7 separate regions of the Homo sapiens genome follow, and all the other regions are linked to region 4. The links are contacts of gene promoters, found by promoter capture Hi-C in blood cells and fetal thymus (Javierre and others, 2016). All regions are on one chromosome and are shown on one strand. Each heading gives the region's core, a stretch centred on a gene start or on the middle of the fragment in contact. The rest is flanking DNA. Distances are from core to core; before and after follow the strand shown. Region 1 overlaps TOR1AIP1 (torsin 1A interacting protein 1). Region 2 overlaps CEP350 (centrosomal protein 350). Region 3 overlaps LOC101928933 (a long non-coding RNA gene). Region 4 holds the start of TPR (translocated promoter region, nuclear basket protein). Region 5 overlaps RGS2 (regulator of G protein signaling 2). Region 6 overlaps TOR1AIP1 (torsin 1A interacting protein 1). Region 7 holds the start of QSOX1 (quiescin sulfhydryl oxidase 1).

Region 1 (2,700 bases), core at 81-2,580, 6.5 Mb before region 4:
AGGCGCCCACCACCACGCCTGGCTAATTTTTTATATATTTAGTAGAGACGGGGTTTCACCGTGTTAGCCAGGATGGTCTCGATCTCCTGACCTCATGATCCACCTGCCTTGGCCTCCCAAAGTGCTAGGATTACAGGCATGAGCCACCGCATCCAGCTGATTTTCCCTTATTTATAAAATACGAACAGTAATAGCATCTACCACATAAGAATTAAGCAAAATTGGCTGGGCATGGTGGCTCATGCCTGTAATCCCAGCACTTTGGGAGGGCGAGGCAGGCAGAGCATTTGAGGTCAGGAATTTGAGACCAGCCTGGCCAACATGGTGAAACCCTGGTCAGGAGTTTGAGACCAGCCTGGCCAACATGGGGAAACCCTGTCTCTACTAAAAAGACAAAAAATTTGGTCAGGCATGGTGGTGCACACCTGTAATCCCAAGTACTTGGGAAGGTGAGGCAGGAGAATATCTTGAACCTGGGAAGCGGAGGTTGCAGTGAGCTGAGATTGTGCCACTGCATTCCAGCCTGGGTGACAGAGTCAGACCCTGTCTCAAAAAAAAAAAAAAAAAAAGAATTAAACAAAATTATACTTGATATATATGACTATATGTAGTTTTTATTTTGATGGTACTGATCCTAAACTAACTCCTTATTGTTGCCCAATTCCTAAACATTTTGAAGTTTAGAAATGAGGGGGAAAGAAATACACACACACTTTATATATATATATATATATATATATGTATATATATGTATATATATAGTATATGTATGTTTTTTATATATATATACTTTATATATTTATATGCTTGGAATTGATGAGAGAATGTTTTTTGTCTGTTGTTTGTTTTTAGTATCCACAGTAAACAAGCAAAATGTCTGTGCAACATCTTTTTTGTTGTTATTTTCAAGTATTCTATGACCTTATCCCTGTTTTCTGTTTCAGGTCAAAACTTCACAGCTCATGATAAGCAACCTTCAGTGCTAAGTAAGTAGTTGGTTGTCTGCTCTTTTTTCAGCCAATCAATTCTTTTCTCTTTTTTTTTTTTTTTTTTTTTGAGACGATGTCTTGCTCTGTCGCCCAGGCTGGAGTGCAATCTGGGCTCATTGCAAGCTCCACCTCCTGGGTTCACGCGATTCTCCTGCCTCCGCCTCCCAAGTAGCTGGGACTACAGGCGCCCGCCACCACGCCCGGCTAATTTTTTGTATTTTTAGTAGAGACGGTGTTTCACTGTGTTAGCCAGGATGGTCTTGATCTCCTGACCTCATGATCCACCTGCCTCGGCCTCCCAAAGTGCTGGAATTACAGGTGTGAGCCACCGCACCCAGCCTCAGTCAATCAATTCTAACCTTGCCTTATTCTCCCAACAAAAGTTGTAATAAGATTTTAAGTCATTTTACCCCTCTTTACCTTTTTAATTCACCACGGATTGGTACTACCTATAATAATTACTCTGTGATATGGAAATGTGTTCAGGGCTATTTTACCACAAGTAATTTGTATTATGTGATAATATATTTATTTGCTACCTGCTTTGCTGTAGGAAGTGGTTCATCCTCACTGATACGATCCTTTGAAATTATCTTTTACTTATAAAACTATTGCTTTTATTGTTTTCTTCCCCTACTTTATTTTGTCTTTCTGATAGATTAATTTTATAACACTGGAATATGGTATAAACTTTCAAAGTATGGGAAATTATCTTTTGATATATGTATTTGCTTCAGGCTCAGGATATCAAAAAACTCCCCAGGAATGGGCCCCACAAACTGCAAGAATAAGGACCAGGATGCAAAGTAAGTAGATAAATCTCTGTTATTGAAATAATCTTGTGTATTTGCTATGTTTTTCTTGACAAAAATATTTAGTTCTTCAGATAAACATTTAGGTTGTTTGTGATTTCACTAATAAAGTACAGCTATGATTACTAGTTTAGTAATTTCTTGGACTGGCAGCACATGGGCTGGGTGTAGAATGTAAATAGTGGCGTGAGAAAACCAGAGATTGGCCAGGTGCGGTGGCTCACGCCTGTAATCCCAGCACTTTGGGAGGCCGAGGTGGGTGGATCACGAGGTCAGGAGATCGAGACCATCCTGGCTAACACGGTGAAACCTCGTCTCTACTAAAAATATTTAAAAAAGAAAAATTAGCTGGGCGTGGCGGCGGGAGGCTACTCGGGAGGCTGAAGCAGGAGAATGGTGTGAACCCAGGAGGCGGAGCTTGCAGTGAGCCAAGATTGCACCACTGCACTCCAGCCTGGGCGACAGAGCGAGACTCCATCTGAAAAAAAGAAAAAAAAAGAGAAAACCAGAGATTGATGGATTTTAACAAGCTGTCAGTTATAGCAGCAATACAGTCTGTATACAATAATGAAATTCTACTCTTTTGACAATACTTATTTTTTGCTTTTAGCAGATTTTGGAACAGCTTTGTATACTCATAATTTTACATAATAAAGGCTGAAATGCACAAGTTATATTTTCATGTTTAGGGTTTTTTTTCTGTTTTTTGTTTTGTTTTGTTTTGTTTTGTTTTGTTTTGTTTTGTTTTTGAGATGGAGTCTTGCTGTGTTGCCCAGGCTGGAGTACAGTGGTGCAACCTCAGTTCACTGCAACCTCTGCCTCCCGGGTTCAAGCAATTCTCCTGCCTCAGCCTCCCAAGTAGCCAGGACTACAGGCGCGTACCACCACACCCAGCTAAT
Region 2 (2,700 bases), core at 90-2,589, 6.3 Mb before region 4:
TCTGTTTCCTATCTCCGTTCTCTATGGATTTGCCTATTCTGGATTTTTTATATAAATGGCATCATTACAGTATGTGGCCCTTTGTAACTGACTTCTTTCACTTAGCATGATGTTTTCAAGTTTCATGCATGTTGTAGCATGTATCACTACTTTGTTTATATGGCCAAATTATATTCTATTGCCTGGATATCCCACATTTTATTTATCCATTCATCAGTTGGTGGACATTTGGGTTGTTTCCACTTTTTAACTATTATAAGTAATGCTGTGAACATTCACATATAACCTTTTGTGTGGATATGTTTTCATTTCTCTTGAGTATATATTTAGGAATGGAATTGCTGGGTCATGTATGGTAGCTCTATGTTTAAATTTTTGAAGAATTGCAAAACTATTTTCCAAAGTAACTGCAGCATTTTATACTATTTTCCCACCACGTAAAATTTTTCTACAGTCCTCACCAATGCTTGTTGTTTTTTTTGTTATAGCCATCTTAGGGGGGACCATGCATACTTGTATCACCAGAACTTAGCAAAGTACCTAGCACACAGTAGGCAATCTACTACAAGTTTATTGAGTGAATGATTAGCATATAACTACTAATTGGTAGAATTGGGATTCAACCCCATGTCCTTCTGACTTGAAAGTCCCTACTGTGTGCTGCATTACATCTTTTACCTTATTGCTTTATTAGAAGATTTATGTTTTCAAAAACTTATTAAACCAAACAATTGCATTATATTCTGATAAGTACTGTCATAGAAATATACACAAAAAAACAGTATGAACACAGGGACAGAAGTGACCAAAGCTTCCTTGAGAGTTGGGGTGGGATCCATGGAGTTTCTTAGAAATAACACTTGAACTGATTCTTGAATTCCATAGGTCGTTAGGCAGACACAGCAGCAAGGGCATTTTGGAAGAGGAAATAAGCATGTGCTGAGGATCCTAAGTATATTAACCTGGCTTGTGTAATGAATGAATAAACCAAGAAATGTAAGGAGGAGAAAGCTTGGGGGAATATACGTTTCGTTTGTTGGCTGAGGAATAGCCAAAATCAGAAGTTCACATGGCATTTCAATACTTGAAGCTTAAAATCAAGGGAAGGGCAAAGATAATGATACAAATTTGAGGCTCACTCTAAATGATAGTAGTTGAAGTTATGGTTAAGATTGCCCAAGGAGAATATGTAATATAAAAGAGAAAGAGGGCCAGCATGGTGGCTTACATCTGTAATCCCAGCACTTTGGGAGACCGAGGCAGGTGGATCATCTGAGGTTAGGAGTTCAAGATCAGCCTGGCCAACATAGCGAAGCCCCATCTCTACTAAAAATACAAAAAAAAAATTAGCCAGGTGTTGTGGCACATGCCTGTAATCCTAGCTACTCGGGAGGCTGAGGCAGGAGAATCTCTTGAATCCAGGAAGTGGAGGTTGCAGTGAACCAAATTGTGCCACTGCACTCCAGCCTGGGCGACAGAATGAAACTCCTCAAAAAAAAAAAAAAAAAAAAAGAAAAGAAAAGGACCAAAACAGAACCATCAATTTTAAGGAAAGACAGAAAAATTTAAAGCAAATGAAAGAAACAAGGAAAGCTTGTTAGAGAGATGGGAAAAGCAGGTGAGAGTAAAATCATAGGATATAAGAAGGGAGGGCTCTTTTATTTAACATTTAATTTTGACATGATTTCAAGCTTATAGAAAAGTTGCAAGAATAATAGAAAGTCCTCAAATATCTTTCATCCAGATTATTCTAACATTTTACTACATTTTATTTAGCAAGTAGAGCTTTTAAAGAAGGAGATATGGTCAACATCTAATATTGCAAAGCAATAAATTATGTATTGGATTTGGCAATTCAAAGTATAGATTAAGCTTATTTAGAACAGTTTTAGTAGAGCAGTTGGGGTGGAAGCAGATTGTGATAAATCGTGATGTTAATGAAAAGTAAAGAAGTGGAAACAGTGAGTAGTAGCTCCCTTTCCCAGAAGTTTGATTTTGAAATGAAAGGAAAAAAGGGAGTGATAACCTAACAACACTGCCTATTATTATTATTTAAAAGTGAAACCTTCCTCTCTCCTACTCATCTTTCTCATCTTTTCCAATATATTCTCAGACTTATGTTACTTAGCTTTTTCTGTTTTATATTACATCTTTCTTCATTTTTATCTTGACTATAAAGTACAGTCATTTGGCCAAATAAGTTTACTTTGAAGCTATAATCCTTATTTTGTTAATTTTGTTGTTGTTGTTTCCATGTATCCATAAAAAGAAGTAGCAGTGGTAGCAGCCGCCAAGAAAGTCCTTCAGTTCCATCTTGTAAGGAAAATGAGAAGAAACTTAATGGTGAAAAGATAGAGAGTTCCATTGATGAACAGGTTCAGACTGCTGCAGATGATTCTCTACGAAGTGATAGTGTTCCATCTCTTCCTGATGAAAAAGGTAACTTTCTTTGCAAATAAATGTGTAATCATTTGTTCAGAAACCAGAGGAAAGGTGATCCTTGTTATAAAGTGGCAAATAAGCTGGATGTGGTGGCTCATGCCAGTAATTCCAGCACTTTGGGAGGCTGAGCTGGGAGAATTGCTTGAGCCTAGGAGTTTGAAACCAGCCAGGGAAACATAGGGAGACCTCTGTCGCTACAAAAAAATTAAAAATTAGCCAGGCTTGGTGGCACAGCCTATGGTCCTAGTACGTGGGAGG
Region 3 (2,700 bases), core at 123-2,622, 6.4 Mb before region 4:
GAAAAAGTACCTTAGCTTATGCAGCCAAAAAACACATGAAAAAATGCTCATCATCACTGGCCATCAGAGAAATGCAAATCAAAACCACAATGAGATACCATCTCACACCAGTTAGAATGGCAATCATTAAAAAGTCAGGAAACCACAGGTGCTGGAGAGGATGTGGAGAAATAGGAACACTTTTACACTGTTGGCGGGACTGTAAACTAGTTCAACCATTGTGGAAGTCAGTGTGGCGATTCCTCAGGGATCTAGAACTAGAAATACCATTTGACCCAGCCATCCCATTACTGGGTATATACCCAAAGGACTATAAATCCTGCTGCTATAAAGACACATGCACACATATGTTTATTGCGGCATTATTCACAATAGCAAAGACTTGGAACCAACCCAAATGTCCAACAATGATAGACTGGATTAAGAAAATGTGGCACATATACACCATGGAATACTATGCAGCCATAAAAAATGATGAGTTCACGTCCTTTGTAGGGACATGGATGAAATTGGAAATCATCATTCTCAGTAAACTATCGCAAGAACAAAAAACCAAACACTGCATATTCTCACTCATAGGTGGGAATTGAACAATGAGATCACATGGACACAGGAAGGGGAATATCACACTCTGGGGACTGTTGTGGGGTGGGGGGAGGGGGGAGGGATAGCATTGGGAGATATACTTAATGCTAGATGACAAGTTAGTGGGTGCAGCGCACCAGCATGGTACATGTATACATATGTAACTAACCTGCACAATGTGTACATGTACCCTAAAACTTAAAGTATAATAAAAAAATAAAATAAAAATAAATCCAAAAATAAATAAATAAATAAATAAATAAAAGAAAAAGTAGCTTAGAGCCAGGATGGGTAGAGTTGATTCTGCCCTACCGTTCCCTAGGGGTAGTTACTTCTTACTGGAACTGCTGCTAATTTACCTTCAAGGTAGTTGCTGCTGTTTTTTCTTAAATTTTGGCTTAAACTTCGATAAAAATAACAACTGTATTTGTCTGTCCAGGGTTACAAAGAGGAAAAGTTTCTTAAGCCTCAAATCAGTAGGATATCATTTCAACTGTGTGAAGTTATTTTCTTGTAACCTTTATGCCTCCTTCTTGGCTGTTCTTTCTCCCATTCCCCACTAGTATATTAAAATTTCTATTATTTATTTTTATTTTAAAAATTTATTATTTAATATTTTGAAAATAAAAAAGCTACAAAGATAATAATACAATCATCTGTGTATCCACACCTAGCTTAAGAAATCAAATGTTACCAACATAGTTGAAGCTTCCTATGTTCACCCCTACCACATATTAATCTCTTCTGCTCCCTCAGGAGGTAATCACTTTTCTGAATTTAGTATTTTTTATTCCTCAGCACTTAAAAATCTTTTACTACATTTGTATGTGTTCCTAAATAATCTATACCAGTACTGTGCATGCTTTTAAGCTTTATGGAAGTGGCATCATACTATATATATCTATCTGCAACCTTTTTATTTTTATTTTTTGAGACGGAGTCTCGCTCTGTCGCCAGGCTGGAGTGCAGTGGCATGATCTCGGCTCACTGCCACCTCCGCCTCCCGGGTTCAAGCGATTCTCCTGCCTCAGCCTCCCGAGTAGCTGGGACTACAGGCGCCCACCACCACACCCAGCTAATTTTTTTGTTTTTTTGAGATGGAGTTTTGCTCTTGTTGCCCAGGCTGGAGTGCAATGGTGCGATCTCGGCTCAGCACAACCTCGGCCTCCTGGGTTCAAGTGATTCTCCTGTCTCAGCCTCCCGAGTAGCTGGGATTATAGGCATGCACCACCATGCCTAGCTAATTTTTTGTATTTTTGGTAGAGATAGGGTTTCTCCATGTTGGTGAGGCTGGTCTCAAACTCCCGATCTCAGATGATCCACCCACCTCAGCCTCCCAAAGTTGTGGGATTACAGGCGTGAGCCACCGCGTCTGGCCTGCAATCTGCTTTTTAAAAATTATATTTGTGTGATACATCCTTAAATTTATTTTCACTGTTTCTTGGTCTTTCATTGTATGAATATTCCTCAGTTTACTACCCATTCTTTTATTGATGGACATGTTATTTCCTATTTTTGCTATTATAAACGATGCTTCTGTAAAATTCCTTGTACTTGTCTCCTTGTGCACCTGGGTGAGTTTCTTACGGCGGCGAACCATTTAATCCAAGTCTGCAGTGAGATAAGAAGCTTGTGTAAAAATATATATCATCATACTGTCTCCTTCATTAAGGAAGTCTTATCTAAAAAAAGTCAGCTTGGCTGGGCACGGTGGCTCACGCCTGTAATCCCAGCACTTTGGGACGCCGAGGCGGGCAGATCACGAGGTCAGGAGATCGAGACCATCCTGGCTAACACGGTGAAACCCCATCTCTACTAAAAATACAAAAAATTAGCTGGGCGTGGTGGCGGGCGCCTGTAGTCCCAGCTACTGGGGAGGCTGAGGCAGGAGAATGGCGTGAACCCGGAGGGCGGAGGTTGCAGTGAGCCGAGATCCCGCCACTGCACTCCAGCCTGGGGGACAGAGTGAGACTCCGTCTCAAAAAAAAAAAAAAAGTCAGCTCATCCCTAAATAGTATATTTAGTGACATAGTTGATTTACATCCTTGCATGAGTTCTTTATCTTATTGGTCTAGTAACAAAGAGTTTGAGAATGTGGACTATTTTGAATGAAAT
Region 4 (2,700 bases), core at 118-2,617:
CTACTAAATATATGTAAAAGTAAATGTGTAAACTTTCCAAGGGAAGGGATTGAATATCATGTTCAGCATAGTATCAGGAACATGTAAGACATTCAATATTTATGGTGCAAATTAATAAATAGAATGCAATGTACTATACTCAGCTCTGGGATCAGAGAACTAATTTTCAAGGTCAATTCTGCTTGACAGTTACACTTTTTTTGAAGTAAAAACTTGTTCAGAATTTCCAGTCAACTTAGCAAGAACAGTATGAACCTCCCCAAACAAATGGTAAACCAAAACACATTAACGGGAAGTTTGTATTTTACTAATGGTAATGACTATATTCTTCATATTTTTTTCAAGGATGTTCAAGCCATTATTGTCAGTAACTTTCTTACTTAAAGGCCTACTTTAGGTAATTACAAGAAAATTTTAATGTTTTCTATCAAACTCCAACTTTTTAAGAGAAATCAAGATATATTAAATTTATGTACTGCACATTCACTGTGTTTCCAGCGCTCTTATGCACCTAATATTCATTTTTGTAAACATCTGATTCGTTCTGGAGCCACGGGACGACGCACACACTAAGAACAAGTGCACAGAGTGGTCAATTTGGCAAAGGCCTAGAATGCAGGTGCCTAGAAAATAGGGCGGAGCCACTATCAGTTGAAGTGCAACAAAACATATAAGGTACTCTAGGCTTAGAGAGATGGGTTCGCAGACTCTATCAAGTCTGTTTCCCGTCTGCCGGACGAAGGAAAATAAGCGTCCCTGTATGAGCCTACCCTAACTACAAAGAAAATGCTACTGAACTTAGATTCAGATTTTTTTTTCAAAGGCTTCTTATCAAACTGTAAGGAGCAGGAAAGCGAAGGCTCAGGATATCCACAGAGCCCAGGAAGTGAGGTTAACAGAGCGGTACCCAGTGCCAACTTGATGGGGGAAGACCAGACCCAAAGGGCGGGAGTCGAGCCCAAAACCAAGGACGGAAAGAGCATCTCACTTACCGCTCTCCACCTTAAATTTCTCATGCCGCCCCTTCAGGCCATCGATCTCGGATTGCTGATCAGCAAGGAACTTTTCAAGTTTGTTCTGGACAGACTTGGGCAGCTTGTTCAGCTCCGTGCGCTCCAGGACTTGCTGCAACACCGCCGCCATGTCGGTGGGGCCAGGGACCCCAGTGGCAGCGGCCGACGGGGTAGAAGCGGAGAAGAAAGGCGAAGACCAGCAGGACCCAGACGCCTGGGCCGCCGCCTCTATCACCTCGCTCGGTGGCTCGCGCGCGCCCGCCCGCCGGAGACTCCCGCGGCGGGACCCTGGGAAATCGAGTCCACCCTCAGCGGCAGCGTTTCAGCAACAGCACCTCACCGCCCGCGACCGAAGTGCGCGCGCAGCCGTTGGAAGCTACGAACCCTGGGAACCCGAGCTCAGAGGCTATCCCTGATCCTCTTGCGCACCCAATTTTCCGGCTTCCAGCTCCACCCACTTCAGGCCTTGTAGGGCTCTGGGAAATGTAGTGTTTTTCTCATTCTTTTCCGGGAGCCCAATGCTGCACCGCCCTCTCAGCTTCCGTTTTTCTCCCCGCTCCCCTGGCTCTCCTATCTCGGCCCCGTAACCGCTGTCCGCACGGTGGCGCCACATACGTACTCGTCACCCCTTGGCCCTCCCTGAAGAGCTGGTGACCTTACCGTCAAAGCCCCGGGATGCCATGGATCGTCCTCGTTGGCGGCTTCTGGACACTGAGCCACTAGAGGGCATCGGTCCCGGTAGGGCCGGACGGCAGGCTCCGGGATACCGCCACGCTCTCTATGGCGCCCAGAAGGGGGCGGGGTGGCGACCGCAGTCGCTTTGGCTGAGGCTCTGCGGGGAAGGGAGGGGGGGCTTTTACGTCATCAATCTGCGCCACCTGACTCCCAAGTCCCTGGCTTTGGAGTGGGAAGTGAGGTGTGGGAAGTAGGTCGCTTTCTGATGAATTCAGTGGCAGTGAATTGAGACCGGAGGGAATCTGGCCCCTAGAGGCTGGTACTTGGGCCCGAAACCCCCATCTCCGGCGGAGAGACCGTCCGAGGTAATTGTCTGCCACGAGTGCACATTCTGAAAACAGGTAAGTCAGCCTAAGTGTAGTGTGTGTGTGTGTGTGTGTGTGTGTGTGCTCTCTTTTCAAGAGAAAAAGGAAGGGACAGTGTTGGAACCATATGGACAGTCACTCCGGCACACACTTCTGACGAACTTACCTTGTGTGAAACGGCGTACCTAAATGGTTTTTGGTGGTGGGGAGGTGGCACTGAGTGATTCAGTACCCGGGAATTTAAGGACCCGGGTTAATTCTTCAGGAGGAGAATTAAAAGAAACCGGTAGCACTTTGAGTGTAGCCTATGTTTTAAATTTTTCGTTGCAGAAACGGTTACCTAACATTATATTGTTTTTAAAATTGAAAACTGTTGTAACTGAAGTTTTTAAACACATTGTTAATTTCTACAGTAACAGAACTTGTATGGTTCCAGATCATAATTCTGTAGTTTTAAAGCTCAATCCGTAGATTGTTTCGTGTTTACTCTTATGAAAGAATTTGTTAAATTATTCATTGTAAATAATGCATTCCCAGTGTCGTCTCTCTGCAGTTCCCACAGTCGTGGGCCTTCTGTGAATTGGTGATTTAGTTCTTATATGAAATTTATTCTTTTTCTCTAGTTCTTACTTTTGAATCATGTTGTG
Region 5 (2,700 bases), core at 175-2,674, 6.4 Mb after region 4:
GTCAGATTAATGGACGAAACTGCTCAGTACATGAGGTTTAAATGTTAGGTGGATAAGACTTATTTGAAGAGTTCTTGCTTTGCCTTATGCGGTTTGTCTCTAGTTACTGGGTGACTTTATTTGGTAAAAATGCGTTCAGCTGCAGTAGCATATTCAAGTGTTGCTAGTTAGTAATTATCTTTTTAATTTTTTGTTTTAGTTTAAAAGATTGGAAGACCCGTTTGAGCTACTTCTTACAAAATTCCTCTACTCCTGGGAAGCCCAAAACCGGCAAAAAAAGCAAACAGCAAGCTTTCATCAAGTAAGTTGAGAATCCTGTGCTTGCAAATATCAATAGTTAGCTGCTGAACTGAAAAGGGGAACTCTGATGTGCGTAAGCTAACATACAGAACCTCTCTTGCAGGCCTTCTCCTGAGGAAGCACAGCTGTGGTCAGAAGCATTTGACGAGCTGCTAGCCAGCAAATGTAAGTTAACTCTTGAGCTTGAGCCATTGCTAACATCGCAAAAGCCTGGAAAGGCTGCGTCCACCTAACAAAAGAGCAGCTTGCCTGAGGGGGATTAGACTGCAGTCACTATAGGATAAAGCCTGTTTTTCTTTCCTTTATTTCCCAGGGTTTAACAAATAAATGCATATATTCTCTCCAGGTGGGGAAGAAAATCAGCCTAAACAAATTAAAGTGGCAGTTGCTTATAGTTAAGGTTGAGTCAGTTTTTCCATTGCATACAATGTTTTCAAGAGGCTTAGTTCCCAGAGAATTTATGGCTCCCCTATAAATATTTACTTTGCATTGACAGCAAAGTACTTATATTTTTGCAGCAGAGTGCCAACATAAGCCTTTTGCCTACTGGTATCTTAGTCTTTAAAAAGCTAAATTTTGAGAATTACAGGTTTGAGCGAAATCTAGAAAATTCATTTAGAAATAATTAAAATGTGAGGGATAGGAGAAACATAAGGAATCATTTGGTCTCTCAGTTCTTCACATTCTGCATGCTCTCTTTTCTCCCCCCTTCAGATGGTCTTGCTGCATTCAGGGCTTTTTTAAAGTCGGAATTCTGTGAAGAAAATATTGAATTCTGGCTGGCCTGTGAAGACTTCAAAAAAACCAAATCACCCCAAAAGCTGTCCTCAAAAGCAAGGAAAATATATACTGACTTCATAGAAAAGGAAGCTCCAAAAGAGGTAAGGAAACAAGTTCCTAATTTCAGCACAATCTGGACATCTTTAGCACAAAAGTGAAACAAAGTAATCAAGGACAAAGCGGGCTAGGAGGGGTAAAAAGTCCCTCCACGTTGTAGCTTTCAGTTATGTTAAAGTTCTCCTGTGACTTAGCTAGTAAAGCTAATCACACATAATTTTTATTTTTTGTTTTCAAATACTAAATTTTAATCTTTAACTCTGAATACCAAATAAACAACTTTTTTGTTTTATTTCAGATAAACATAGATTTTCAAACCAAAACTCTGATTGCCCAGAATATACAAGAAGCTACAAGTGGCTGCTTTACAACTGCCCAGAAAAGGGTATACAGCTTGATGGAGAACAACTCTTATCCTCGTTTCTTGGAGTCAGAATTCTACCAGGACTTGTGTAAAAAGCCACAAATCACCACAGAGCCTCATGCTACATGAAATGTAAAAGGGAGCCCAGAAATGGAGGACATTTCATTCTTTTTCCTGAGGGGAAGGACTGTGACCTGCCATAAAGACTGACCTTGAATTCAGCCTGGGTGTTCAGGAAACATCACTCAGAACTATTGATTCAAAGTTGGGTAGTGAATCAGGAAGCCAGTAACTGACTAGGAGAAGCTGGTATCAGAACAGCTTCCCTCACTGTGTACAGAACGCAAGAAGGGAATAGGTGGTCTGAACGTGGTGTCTCACTCTGAAAAGCAGGAATGTAAGATGATGAAAGAGACAATGTAATACTGTTGGTCCAAAAGCATTTAAAATCAATAGATCTGGGATTATGTGGCCTTAGGTAGCTGGTTGTACATCTTTCCCTAAATCGATCCATGTTACCACATAGTAGTTTTAGTTTAGGATTCAGTAACAGTGAAGTGTTTACTATGTGCAACGGTATTGAAGTTCTTATGACCACAGATCATCAGTACTGTTGTCTCATGTAATGCTAAAACTGAAATGGTCCGTGTTTGCATTGTTAAAAATGATGTGTGAAATAGAATGAGTGCTATGGTGTTGAAAACTGCAGTGTCCGTTATGAGTGCCAAAAATCTGTCTTGAAGGCAGCTACACTTTGAAGTGGTCTTTGAATACTTTTAATAAATTTATTTTGATAAATAATATTGAACACTTGGAGTCTAGATGTGATTTTATTTTTGATAACTGGAAATGTGGCAGATAAAGGGAAAACATCTTTATAGTAAAAGACATTTCAGTTTTTGTGCCTGCCCAGTGAGAATTGACAGTCTTCAGAACTGAGAAATGATAGTTGCAGACAGATAATTCTTTTTTTAAAACCTATAAGCATTATGCAGACCTAAGGAAGTCACATCCTTAGAACCACTGCATTTATGCTTTCTAATCTTAAAAAAAAATCAAGCTTGTTAATGAAACACTGATCTAAAGGATTCTGTATCTAAGTACCAGCTAAATATGAGAAGTAAATGTAATGGAGACAAGCACAAAAATTATTCACATAATTAAGCTTCTCAAATGAAGAAAGAAGCCAAATAAGGTCA
Region 6 (2,700 bases), core at 23-2,522, 6.5 Mb before region 4:
CTTTTGTAGAGATGGGGTTTTGCCATGTTACCCACATGATCTCAAACGCCTGGGTAAGTGATCCACCCACCTCAGCCTCCCAGAGTGCTGGGATTACAGGCATGAGCCACGGCACCTGGCTTACTTTTCTGCACTTTCTTGTTTATTTTTACTTAACATATATACAGAGATATTTCTATATTCATATATAAAAAGCTTCCTTTTTTAAAGAGATTGTTTCTTATATATTCCTGTGATTCTTTATGATGATTTTAAACTATGGTCAGGGACTTTATTCTTCCAGTATACTGCTAACAAAAAATTCAAGCTGGAGCTCTGTGGCACAGAACGACAAAATGTCCCTCCCTCAGTTATCTTTTTGACTAAAACGATTAAAAGTATTGCCCTGAAATTGATTTCATGACTATGAAGAAAACTAGTAAAGACACTCCAAGCAGTCTACTTTTACTTCATTTTCCTTGTTTTTTTGGCTCTTAAAGATGCTTTATCATGGGAACTAAAAAGGAAATGTATTTATCTTTATATTAGGCTTCTGTACCTTCCCATTCTCTTTATCAAAGAATGATGTTGATTTATTTCGATAGATAGTTGACTATCCTTTTAAGTATTCCAGTGGTAAAGATCTACTAAGGTTTTGTTAATGAACCTGTGGTAAAGAACCATATGATGCATTTCCTTTTCAACCCTAATCATTCTCTTGCTATGTCTCTTGCAGATTCGACATACAAAACAAATAGAAATACTAAAATGAGTGAATTATGTTCGTTTATTTCTATTCTTTTTTTTTTCCAGGCAGGGTCTCACTCTCACCCAGGCTGGAGTGCGGTGGCGTGATCTTGGCTCACTGCAGCCTCCTCCTCCTATTGTAGTCCCAGCTACTCTGGAGGCTCAACTGAGCCTCCTACTTCAGCCTCTGGAGTAGCTGGAACTACAGTCATGCATCACCATGCCTGGCTGATTCCTGTGTTTTTTATAGAGATGGGGTTTCACCATGTTGCCCAGGCTAGTCTCGAATTCCTGGGCTCTAGCAATCCACCCGCTTTGGCCTCCCAAAGTGCTGGGATTATTGGCATGCACAACTGCGCCCAACCCTATCTCTAATTCTTACAAGGTCTCTTTGAGGGTCCAGATTAATAGAATACAAGAGTATATATATCTAGTCATTGGCTTGAGAATACTAATTTATTATGTCAGTTTGTGGGGACCCAGTCCCTATGACTAGGACCTCCCATAAACAGCCTTGGTTTTTGTTGTCTATAATTATGCCTATATTATTGCTTAAATTCATATAAAAACATGTAATCAATTTAGTCCTGCTAGTCTTCATTAAATTCACACTATTAGGAAAAAGGAGATAACAACTTACCAATTAAGGTTTTTCTCTTGATTTATTTTTTGTTTTTGTTTTTCTGAGACAGAGCCTTGCTCTGTCACCCAGGCTGTAGTACCGTGGTGCGATCTCGGCTCACTGCAACGTCTGCCTCCCAGGTTCAAGCAATTCTCCTGCCTCAGCCTCCCAAGTAGCTGGGATTACAGGTGCCCACCACCACGCCCAGCTACTTGTTTTGTATTTTTAGTAGAGACAGGGTTTCACCATGTTGGCCAGGCTGGTTTCAAACTCCCTGACCTTGTGATCTACCCCACTTGGCCTCCCAAAGTGCTGGGATTACAGGCATGAGCCACCACGCCCGGCCTTTCTCCTTGATTTTTATTTTTATTTTTTATTTTTATTTATTTATTTATTTTTATTTTCTCGAGACAGGCTCTTGCTCTATCACCGAGGCTGGAGTGCAATGGCGTGATCTTGGCCCACTGCAACTTCTGCCTCCCTGGTTCAAGTGATTCTCCTGCCTCAGCCTTTCAAGCAGCTGGGATTACAGATGACCACCATGACACCCAGCTAATTTTTGTATATTTAGTAGAGATGGGGTTTCACCATGTTGGTCAGGCTGGTCTCGAACTCCTGACCTCAAGCAATCCACCTGCCTCGGCCTCCCAGAGTTTTGGGATTGTAGGCGTGAGCCACCACACCTGGCCCTTTCTTCATTTAGAAAGTGAATTCGATACGTTGTTCACGGCGAGTTCAGTGTCCTTTGCTGTAATACGTTCGTTGAACGGGTTTTAATTCATTTCAGTGTCTGCCTGGCTATAGGACATGACATACCATGATTTGTGGTTTTAAATGAATCTACATTGAATGTTGTTAGACTTAGTTTTTTTTACATTTTAATTATTTTCTAAATTTGAAGATGAGCCAAAAGGGAAACGCTTCATTTTTCTTTATAAATCATTGTACCTTCCTCTAATTCATCTTTCACTTAAGTTCAGGCCACTTCTTTAGAGACTTAAAAAAGCTTTTTAGGCTGGGTGTGGTGGCTCACGCCTATAATCCCAGCACTTTGGGAGGCTGAGGTGGGCAGATCACCTGAGGTCAGGAGTTCAAGACCAGCCTGGCTGGCATGGCAAAACCCCGTCTCTACTAAAAGTACAAAATTAGCCAGGCGTGGTGGTGCTGTGCACTGTAACCCCAGCTGCTTGAGAGTCTGAGGCAGGAGAATCACTTATACCCAGGATGCAGAGGTTGCAGTGAGCCGCAATCACGCCATTGCACTCCAGCCTGGGCAAAAAGAGTAAAACTCTGTCTCAAACAAAAAAAAAAACTTCTTTGGGAGGCCAAGGCGGGCAGATCACAAGGTCAGG
Region 7 (2,700 bases), core at 144-2,643, 6.2 Mb before region 4:
CCTAAACTTAAATGTGGCCTTCCAGATTATGATGAAGGTATACATGTCAAGATAAAAGGATAGGAATTTTACATCACCGTTTAATTTGTAGTTTTAAAATATGTAGACATGATATGTGGGCCTCCATTTGTACTACTGACTCAGTTCTTGCAAATATTAAGGGTAGACCTGTCCCTGATCTTCGTGTGTAAAATAGCACCTCCTCTGCCACTCTATTCTTACCCCAGTCTACATTTCTTCATAACATCGGTCACCATCTGATCTACATTTACTTATGTATCATCTCTTTACCCCCACTGGAATGTAAGTTCCACGTCCCTAGAGTCTATATTTTGTTTACTGCCTTATCCTTATACCTAAACAAGTGCCTGGCATGACACCACTCAGTAAAACTTGAATAAATGAATAACAAATCTAGGCTCAAAGCTCTTACAGGTGAAAGGGGCTAACCTGGCAGTCACAAAGGAAAAATATCACTGTGACAACCGTCTGAGGAGCACCTTCTCCCCTTAAAATAACTCACTCAAAACAGTGGAGCTGCAAAGGTGACCAGAGAAAATCCATTAACACCTTAGTGCCCATGACACCAGGTGAGTTGATCGGGCTACTTGCGAGAGGGACATGTGAGTGAGCGTGGAGAGCTCTGAGTAGGCTGAAGAGCTGGATGTGGGGGATCTGGGCTGCTGGGAACCCCGAATGTTGGAATCGCCCTGACAACCTTATGAGGGTGGTCAGATATGGGTCCTGAGGAAACTGATTCCACGGCAACTGCCCGCCAACCCAGCACACCCCACAGTGAAGAGGGGCTTCTGATCCATGAGTAGGGCCCCTCAAATGATGTTCCCCTTTAGATGGTCATGGTCATCAGCAGGGGTGGGTGCATCGATCCTGTGGGGTCTTGGTGGTCGCAGACCAAGCGTCCCTCTTCTCACATCTAATTCACAACGTCTCATCGCTCCGCGGGAGCCCAGGAACTGCCCTACAACAGCCGAAATCCGGGTCGTCTATTCCAACGGACTCCTCTTCCGTTGGATACGGGGGCCGTGAGAGGCCAAACAACCTCCGCGAGGCTACCCCCGCAGCGACCGCTCGGCGGGCGCTCCATTCCTTTACCGGACTGTACACCTCGCCTCCTGGGGCCTGAGGCGGGAACCCGGGTCGCGCTGCTCCGAGGCCTCGGCGGACCGCGAAAGGATGGCTCACCACCCGGCCAGGGCCAGCCCCTGCAACAAGCTCAGCCCCGCCCGCTCCCGCGCCCAGGAGCGGCCGGCGGGGCGGGGTGGCTGGGCCGGCCTCGGGGGCGGGGGCTCGGGGGCGGGGGCTCAGGGGCGGGGCCACGTGGCTCCTCCTTGCGGGCGGAGGCAGGCGGTGCCGCGGCGCCGGGACCCGACTCATCCGGTGCTTGCGTGTGGTGGTGAGCGCAGCGCCGAGGATGAGGAGGTGCAACAGCGGCTCCGGGCCGCCGCCGTCGCTGCTGCTGCTGCTGCTGTGGCTGCTCGCGGTTCCCGGCGCTAACGCGGCCCCGCGGTCGGCGCTCTATTCGCCTTCCGACCCGCTGACGCTGCTGCAGGCGGACACGGTGCGCGGCGCGGTGCTGGGCTCCCGCAGCGCCTGGGCCGTGGAGTTCTTCGCCTCCTGGTGCGGCCACTGCATCGCCTTCGCCCCGACGTGGAAGGCGCTGGCCGAAGACGTCAAAGGTGAGAAGCGGGGGCGGCCCGCTCCCCCGTGCCCCGCCGCCCGGACCCCTCCACCTGCCCGGTGGGCAGCCTCCTACTCCGGGAGCGCGTCCCTCTTCCAGTCACCTCCGCCCACCTCTTCCTCTCCGCGCATCCCACGCCCACCACCTTCATGTTTCTCAGCTCCATTTTTGCCTCCCGCTCCCTTGCCTTTTCCTCTTGGCCCTCATCCCGAGCTTCTTTCCCTCTCCGCGGCCTGGGCCCCCAGACCTGCCCTGCTCGCCCGGTTCGTCCCCCGCCAGGTTACTGCCTCCTTCCCTGCGAGAGGTCTCCTTTGTTCCTTCCTCCGCATGGTCCGCTGACACCTTACCGTTTCCTGGGCCAGCCTTGTGGCAGTCCTCTTCCTCTCGTCCAGGGACCCATGTCATCTTCCTGCCAGGTTCCCTAGCTGCTGTGGGTCAGTGCTGGGGAGAAAAGGGAACGGACATCCATTTTGCCTCCCTGCCACCTTTCTCCACTCCCTCGACTGGTTGACCAGGTGGTACATAGACTTCCTTTCTCATTTTTGTCTTTGATGTGGGTATGTCCACCTGGCAGTTTTCCTATCTCTGTTCCGGGCCTCTCCTGACCTGCCGCCTCCAGCTCCTTAGCTTCTGGGCCACATCCTTCTCTCTCTTCCCCCGCTCAGACCCTTATATTTTAAACCCATGCACCCAGAGGCCTTTGGTGCGTGTTTGGCTCTTGCTCCATGTTCCCAATCCCTGGTTGGGGCACCAAAACTATATTTCCTGAATTCCAAGACACCATCAACTGTGAGACACACTGTTCATTTTATGACAGCCCAAGGGGTAGAAGGATAGGAAAAAACCACTACATGTATAAAGATTTGAAGGTGAACTCTATTACAGAAATGCTAAAATTTTGAAACACTTAAGACTTAGAGTCGAGGAAATATGGTAATAATAGTAATTAATATTTACGGAGCACCTATCATTTCAGGCACCTTACTAAGTACTCGGCATAC

What was found. Contacts are between HindIII fragments. The CHiCAGO score rates a contact against its expected background, and 5 or more counts as called.
Region 1: a fragment that was not itself captured here is called in contact with the fragment with the promoter of TPR in region 4 in 1 of 17 cell types (total CD4 T cells); the score reaches 7.0 in total CD4 T cells.
Region 2: a contact is called between a fragment that was not itself captured here and the fragment with the promoter of TPR in region 4, in 1 of 17 cell types (total CD4 T cells). The highest score is 5.1, in total CD4 T cells.
Region 3: a fragment that was not itself captured here is called in contact with the fragment with the promoter of TPR in region 4 in 1 of 17 cell types (total CD4 T cells); the score reaches 11.9 in total CD4 T cells.
Region 5: a fragment that was not itself captured here is called in contact with the fragment with the promoter of TPR in region 4 in 1 of 17 cell types (naive B cells); the score reaches 5.7 in naive B cells.
Region 6: a contact is called between a fragment that was not itself captured here and the fragment with the promoter of TPR in region 4, in 4 of 17 cell types (naive CD8 T cells, non-activated CD4 T cells, total CD4 T cells and 1 more). The highest score is 10.2, in naive CD8 T cells.
Region 7: the fragment with the promoter of QSOX1 here is called in contact with the fragment with the promoter of TPR in region 4 in 1 of 17 cell types (monocytes); the score reaches 5.9 in monocytes.

The regions. Positions count from the first base shown.
Region 1 is chr1:179,906,879-179,909,578 of GRCh38, forward strand. It overlaps TOR1AIP1 (torsin 1A interacting protein 1), which reads left to right. Exons shown (of 10, transcript NM_015602.4): 7 at 945-986; 8 at 1,727-1,795. Among named protein-coding and RNA genes, the nearest start is that of TOR1AIP1, 26 kb to the left of the region's middle. RefSeq lists a silencer at 1,958-2,160. The HindIII fragment of the contact is 7,492 bases long and covers 1-2,700 here.
Region 2 is chr1:180,046,267-180,048,966 of GRCh38, forward strand. CEP350 (centrosomal protein 350) reads left to right here. Exons shown (of 38, transcript NM_014810.5): 22 at 2,270-2,439. Among named protein-coding and RNA genes, the nearest start is that of CEP350, 93 kb to the left of the region's middle. The HindIII fragment of the contact is 503 bases long and covers 1,089-1,591 here.
Region 3 is chr1:179,942,929-179,945,628 of GRCh38, forward strand. All of the region lies in intron 1 of LOC101928933 (a long non-coding RNA gene), which reads right to left. Among named protein-coding and RNA genes, the nearest start is that of CEP350, 11 kb to the right of the region's middle. The HindIII fragment of the contact is 162 bases long and covers 1,292-1,453 here.
Region 4 is chr1:186,373,886-186,376,585 of GRCh38, forward strand. It overlaps TPR (translocated promoter region, nuclear basket protein), which reads right to left and starts at 1,368. Exons shown (of 51, transcript NM_003292.3): 1 at 993-1,368. The coding sequence starts at 1,143. ODR4 (odr-4 GPCR localization factor homolog) reads left to right here and starts at 1,953. Exons shown (of 14, transcript NM_017847.6): 1 at 1,953-2,089. RefSeq lists a silencer at 503-552 and enhancers at 1,113-1,412, 1,573-1,622, 1,793-1,982. The HindIII fragment of the contact is 6,872 bases long and covers 1-2,700 here.
Region 5 is chr1:192,809,967-192,812,666 of GRCh38, forward strand. It overlaps RGS2 (regulator of G protein signaling 2), which reads left to right. Exons shown (of 5, transcript NM_002923.4): 2 at 200-301; 3 at 404-465; 4 at 1,015-1,181; 5 at 1,436-2,309. The coding sequence ends at 1,630. Among named protein-coding and RNA genes, the nearest start is that of RGS2, 2.3 kb to the left of the region's middle. RefSeq lists a silencer at 267-326. The HindIII fragment of the contact is 2,270 bases long and covers 290-2,559 here.
Region 6 is chr1:179,889,829-179,892,528 of GRCh38, forward strand. The region is part of intron 3 of TOR1AIP1 (torsin 1A interacting protein 1); the gene reads left to right. Among named protein-coding and RNA genes, the nearest start is that of TOR1AIP1, 8.9 kb to the left of the region's middle. The HindIII fragment of the contact is 2,159 bases long and covers 194-2,352 here.
Region 7 is chr1:180,153,476-180,156,175 of GRCh38, forward strand. It overlaps QSOX1 (quiescin sulfhydryl oxidase 1), which reads left to right and starts at 1,394. Exons shown (of 12, transcript NM_002826.5): 1 at 1,394-1,697. The coding sequence starts at 1,433. It overlaps LOC105371636 (a long non-coding RNA gene), which reads right to left and starts at 1,363. Exons shown (of 2, transcript XR_001738314.3): 1 at 524-1,363. RefSeq lists a silencer at 1,069-1,388 and an enhancer at 1,569-1,668. The HindIII fragment of the contact is 9,170 bases long and covers 1-2,700 here.